2 separate regions of the Homo sapiens genome follow, and region 2 is linked to region 1. The links are contacts of gene promoters, found by promoter capture Hi-C in human tissues and cell types (Jung and others, 2019). All regions are on one chromosome and are shown on one strand. The core of a region is centred on a gene start or on the middle of the fragment in contact, and the rest is flanking DNA. Distances in the headings are between cores, read along the strand shown. Region 1 holds the start of AIRE (autoimmune regulator). Region 2 overlaps ICOSLG (inducible T cell costimulator ligand).

Region 1 (2,700 bases), core at 41-2,540:
GGACTCTGGCTGCCCAAAAGCAAACGGCACGCCTGCCCACGTGGGAATCTTGGTGGCGTCTCTCACTGCATCAGTTAGCCCCCAGCCCAGTGCTGCCTGGATTCAGGCTTCCTGGTACCTTCGTCCACCCTTCAGCCCTAATCCATGCTGGCCAGGTCATCTCGTTCTCTGGCTCAGTGGGAACACTCGTGCCCAGAGACCTCTCGTGGTTCTCTGCAGCCTGCACACAGGGCCTGCTTCCCTGGCTTGACCGCACAGACAAGGGGACTGTTACCAAGGCCTCCCACTGAGGCCACCCCCCCTCCAGGCCATGCCTGCGGGGCCACCACAGCCTCAGCATCATTGCAGGCCCCAGGCCTCTGCACCTGGTCTTGTTTTACTGGGGGCACTGTCCCCACTCACGTCCACCTGGGACCCTCGGCTCCTGTCCACTGCAGCTCCCCTCCCGGACACCTTCCCAGATGCCCCCGGAAGCTCCTGTCCAGGCCACAGCATCCCTCAGCCTCTGTCACTGGTCCTAGGAAGACCCTTTGGGAGCTCTCACTCAGGGCCACACTCAGGACCCCCGTTGTGGGGCTGGCCGCCTTCCTTCTAAAGCACCTGGAGGAAGGAAGGAGGGGGTCAATGCGAGCCTCAATCCCCAGGCGAGTGTGCCCCTTTTAAAGATGAGGGAACCGAGGCTCAGAGAAGGAAAGGACTTGCCTGGCGTCACACAGCTAGCCTAAGATGGTGAGGTCAGGAGCTCCCTGGCAACACCCAGGCTGCCGTACCGTCTCCTGCATCAGACTGAGCCTCCATCGGGCTCCTCCCACAGCCCCAGGCGGGCCCCTGAGTAGGGGCTCTCAGCTTGTGTGGAGGTCCCCCAGGAACACCACCCCGATCCAGCCTCCATGGAGGCTCTTGCCGGCCACTGGGAGGGGCCGGTGCACCCTGGGCAGCCCCTGCCAGGGCCCTGAGACCCGAGCCTCCCCGCCGAGGGCACCTGTCTCGGCTTTGCCCCATTCGAGCAGGGCCCTCGCCGAGGCAGGACAGGGCCACATTCGGAAGTGAGAGTTCTCTGAGTCCCGCACAGAGCGAGTCTCTGTCCCCAGCCCCCAAGGCAGCTGCCCTGGTGGGTGAGTCAGGCCAGGCCCGGAGACTTCCCGAGAGCGAGGGAGGGACAGCAGCGCCTCCATCACAGGGAAGTGTCCCTGCGGGAGGCCCTGGCCCTGATTGGGCGCCGGGGCGGAGCGGCCTTTGCTCTTTGCGTGGTCGCGGGGGTATAACAGCGGCGCGCGTGGCTCGCAGACCGGGGAGACGGGCGGGCGCACAGCCGGCGCGGAGGCCCCACAGCCCCGCCGGGACCCGAGGCCAAGCGAGGGGCTGCCAGTGTCCCGGGACCCACCGCGTCCGCCCCAGCCCCGGGTCCCCGCGCCCACCCCATGGCGACGGACGCGGCGCTACGCCGGCTTCTGAGGCTGCACCGCACGGAGATCGCGGTGGCCGTGGACAGCGCCTTCCCACTGCTGCACGCGCTGGCTGACCACGACGTGGTCCCCGAGGACAAGTTTCAGGTGGGCTCCCCGCCCGCCCCCCGCTGCCCCCAGGCCCTGTGAGCCAGGGATAGTCCCCGGGGAAGTTCCAGGAGGACCCCGCCCCTCCAGATCCCCAAGCCCCTCCAGCCTTCCCCAACTCCCTCCCCACAAGGAGCCAGGGGCGTCCCTGATGACAAGTTAGAAGTTGGTCCCCTTCCCCCAGCCGTCCCCACACCTCACCCCCAAGCCAAGGGAATGGCCTCCAGGTTCCCCCAGCCCCACCCTCAACACCCCTACACCACCACCTGACTCCACCACAAGCCGAGGAGATGGGCGTGGAGCTGTCCAGGTCGCCAGCGCCTCTGCCTGGGAGCTCCACCCTCTAGTCATGATGGAGATGGGCAGGCCGCAGGGTGTGGGGGACCATGGCAGGGACCCTCATGCCACCCCACTGCAGGAGACGCTTCATCTGAAGGAAAAGGAGGGCTGCCCCCAGGCCTTCCACGCCCTCCTGTCCTGGCTGCTGACCCAGGACTCCACAGCCATCCTGGACTTCTGGAGGGTGCTGTTCAAGGACTACAACCTGGAGCGCTATGGCCGGCTGCAGCCCATCCTGGACAGCTTCCCCAAAGGTGGGTCCTGGTGGACTCAGCCATGCTGGGGGCCTGGGGCAGCTGCTGTCACCTGCTCAGCCCAGCTGGACTGGAACCGGAGTGGTGTTTGAGGAGCCCGTGGGTGATGTTCCAGGACCGTCTTGGATCCTAAGAGGCAAAGGGGCCAGGCCTCACCTGTCTGGCCAAGGTGTCCAGTTCTGGGGCCCACCCTACCCCTGGAGAAAACCCTGAGGTTGGGACCCTGCTCCTGCCCCTGAGCTGCAGATGTGGACCTCAGCCAGCCCCGGAAGGGGAGGAAGCCCCCGGCCGTCCCCAAGGCTTTGGTACCGCCACCCAGACTCCCCACCAAGAGGAAGGCCTCAGAAGAGGCTCGAGCTGCCGCGCCAGCAGCCCTGACTCCAAGGGGCACCGCCAGCCCAGGTACCCTCCCTGCAGGGGAAGCCAGCCAGGGTCTCCAGTCTTCCCGGGCTTCCCCGGGAGCCCACGCCCCCTCCCCACCCGGGCTCCCACCCACTGGGTGTGGGGCCAGCCTGCCTGGGGCTGTGGGGGTCTCCTCTGGGTACTAGACCCAC
Region 2 (2,819 bases), core at 304-2,803, 57 kb before region 1:
CACCTCCCGGGACACCCGAGTGGTGATGCACGACCCTCAGTCCTGGGGCTTAGGACCTCTGGGTGCCCCCGCAGGTCCGTCCTGGAGTCACTTCACAGTCACTGCAAATGGGCACCACAGCCCACTTTCCAACGCCCCAACTTTCCACACCCAAGCAGCTCCTTGTCCCTGCCAATCAATGCCCGGTGATGACAACTGTTCTTTTATAAACACCACACATCTTCTAATGCTTTCATGTTAAAAGCGGGAGTGGATCCCACATTCACCTAAAGGCTCAGGTAGGGACTTTTTTTGCAGAAAACCAATTTCTTGTAACAAGTACTGGAACCTCATTGTAGCCTTGAGTCCTCACTCCTCCTTTTGTTCTAAGTCTGGGTCTGAGAAGTGCAGGCCTCACACAGCTGTCAGTTCCAAGTGACCAGGGCTGTAACAGGTCCTGGCTGACCCTGGGAATGTCAGGGGATTCTGGGAAGTAAGAAGGAGGGGCATTTGCCCATAGCCCCGGGGCAGACAATGTGTCCCGAGGGCCAGGCCAGGCTGTCTACTCCATCTCCCTGGGGCGAGTGCACCTCGGGTCACCTGGCAGCATCCTTTCCAGCCCTTCTGGAGACAGTCAGCAGCTGATTCATTCCGGGAACCAGCATGGCAGGTGCCGGGGCTGGTCAGGGCCCAGGGCTGTACCCCTCAGCACTGGACCACCCCGTCTCCTGCCCCCTTGGGACTGTTGGGCTCCGAGGAGCCTGGCGCTGGGGTCGGAGGTCTTCATCAGGACCCTGGGGACCCTCAGGGTTGAGTGGGGTGGGGCTGCTGAGGGTGGTGGGGGCCGGGGGAGCCACCTCTCACTTTGGGGATCATTGCTGAGGTGAGAAGGGGGACTGTGGCCACCAGGTGATACCCTCTCCATGCACCTAACTGCTGCTCAGGACTCTGGGGACCGTGTTGCCAGGCCTGCGCCTGCTGGACATGGGCGTCTCCAGCCCTGCTGGGCTGTGTCTTTCTCGCTGCAGAGCCAAGAGCCCCGGCAGCCCCTGTAGCCAAACACGGCCCTGGCACAGCCTTTCTTCTGGCAAACTCCACCCGTGCGTCTTCCAAAGGTGGCTCAACTTTTCACCGGAACAGCCGAGGGACATTGTTCCTCCCAGGGAATGTGGCAGAGGACACTGAAGCCCAGTGGGGACTTCCGGGGGCTCCTCGGTGTGGACGGCTAACTACACTTGTGGGCACACACATGAGTGGGTCCTGTGGCTTCCGGGCGGGAGGCAGGTTGGGAGCGTTCAGGGCAGAAGAGCTCCTGTGACCGTGTCCCCTGCAAACAGCCTCGCGTGACCCCAGCAGCACAGAGGCCGTCCTGGAAGAGCGGACGCCCAGTCTTCTTTTTAAACCAAACACCCTTCGGTCTCAGGATCCCGCATCCCACGGGAAGACCCACAGTGGGTCTGGGGTACTGGGAAGAGCCTGGTGCTGAATCCCGCACGCTCCGGGTAGAGACAGCCCATCACCAGTCCCTTCCTGTGGGTGACTGGCAGTGACAGCGGGGAGCCCACTCACTTGGGGACATTTGCCTTTGGTGTGGATGACGCTTTTGAAAGGGCCTCATTCCAGGATCACAGCCAACGCCAGCAGGTTCTCCCTGGGATCCAGCAGTGGTCCTTCTGGGGGCTGCCCCAAGTGCTCCCCTGCAGTCTGGGAGTCCATGCTCAAGCTGCCACCTGGCCTCTCACGGTGGCGTCTCACGGAAGCCCTGTCCACGCTCTGGGCGGTGAGCTCCGGTCAAACGTGGCCTTGGAAGGGAGATGAAGGAGAGAGAGGAACATGAAGCACCCCTTTCCCTTCTGCAGGCAGACGTCGGTTTTCTCAGGACTCAGCTTGGTGGAAACACAGGGTTTAAAGCTTCGGAAACAGCGGCCTGTTCAGGGAACTTCGACTGGCTCCGACGGGAACAGGCCGGCCGTGTTTTTAGCAAGCTGTGTTCCTGCATCATCTGGATGGGCCGACCTGGCCTTGGAAGTGCGTTTCTGCGGTCGGCCATCAGCTCGCCTGGGTCCACAGGTGACACCACAGCATGGTGGCTGCGCACACCCTGAGCCCACTGTCCCCGGGGAACCCCTTCTCCTGGGCGGCAAACAGGGCTCGGAGGGGATCCTGGCCCATGGCGGGGAGCCCGGCTGGCCTGCCTGCGAAGCCCAGCGCCCCTTGCAGCCAGAGGCACCTGCCAGGTGGGTGACCGTGTGTGGACATTTTTCCCAAATTGGACAGGAATCCACATCTATGTTGCTCCTGGAACTGAGGGGCAAACGAGAGCTGCAGGAGTGGCTGCCACAGAGAGAAGCTGGCGGTGCCCGGACCCACTCCGGACACCCCACAGGGGCTGGGCGCCGGTGCCTGGACCCGCCCTGGACACCCCACGGGGGCTGGGCGCCGGTGCCTGGACCCACTCCGGACACCCCATGGGGGCTGGGCGCCGGTGCCTGGACCCGCCCTGGACACCCTGGTCGGGGCTGGGCACTGGGGAGCGCGGGGGTCTAGCACTCGTCTCTCTGCTTCTGTGCATGTTGGGAAAATCCCATCGCAGTGTGACAAAGTGCACACCAGGATGCCATCCCATGCCAAGGGGAGGCTGCAGGAAATGCCATGCGCACCATCGAGGGCTTCGCTGCGTCTCCAGGAACAACAGTTGTTCAAGGCAAGGGACTTTTGCCTTTTGAAAGTTTTTTGAAACTCTGAAAGACAGCTGGCAGCCAAGCCTCCCCTGGGCCCCCCAGAACCTGCTGCTTCCCACGGCAAACTCACCAGTGAGCTCTGTCTCCGGACTCACAGCC

Evidence for each region. Contacts are between HindIII fragments. The study calls those that stand out against the background at their distance.
Region 2: a fragment that was not itself captured here is called in contact with the fragment with the promoter of AIRE in region 1 in 3 of the 25 tissues and cell types used here (bladder, mesendoderm cells and spleen).

The regions. Positions count from the first base shown.
Region 1 is chr21:44,284,586-44,287,285 of GRCh38, forward strand. It overlaps AIRE (autoimmune regulator), which reads left to right and starts at 1,291. Exons shown (of 14, transcript NM_000383.4): 1 at 1,291-1,553; 2 at 1,972-2,146; 3 at 2,393-2,548. The coding sequence starts at 1,422. RefSeq lists enhancers at 1-168, 169-770. The HindIII fragment of the contact is 44,459 bases long and covers 1-2,700 here.
Region 2 is chr21:44,227,264-44,230,082 of GRCh38, forward strand. It overlaps ICOSLG (inducible T cell costimulator ligand), which reads right to left. Exons shown (of 7, transcript NM_015259.6): 6 at 2,791-2,819; 7 at 1-1,781. The coding sequence ends at 1,771. Among named protein-coding and RNA genes, the nearest start is that of ICOSLG, 12 kb to the right of the region's middle. The HindIII fragment of the contact is 5,677 bases long and covers 1-2,819 here.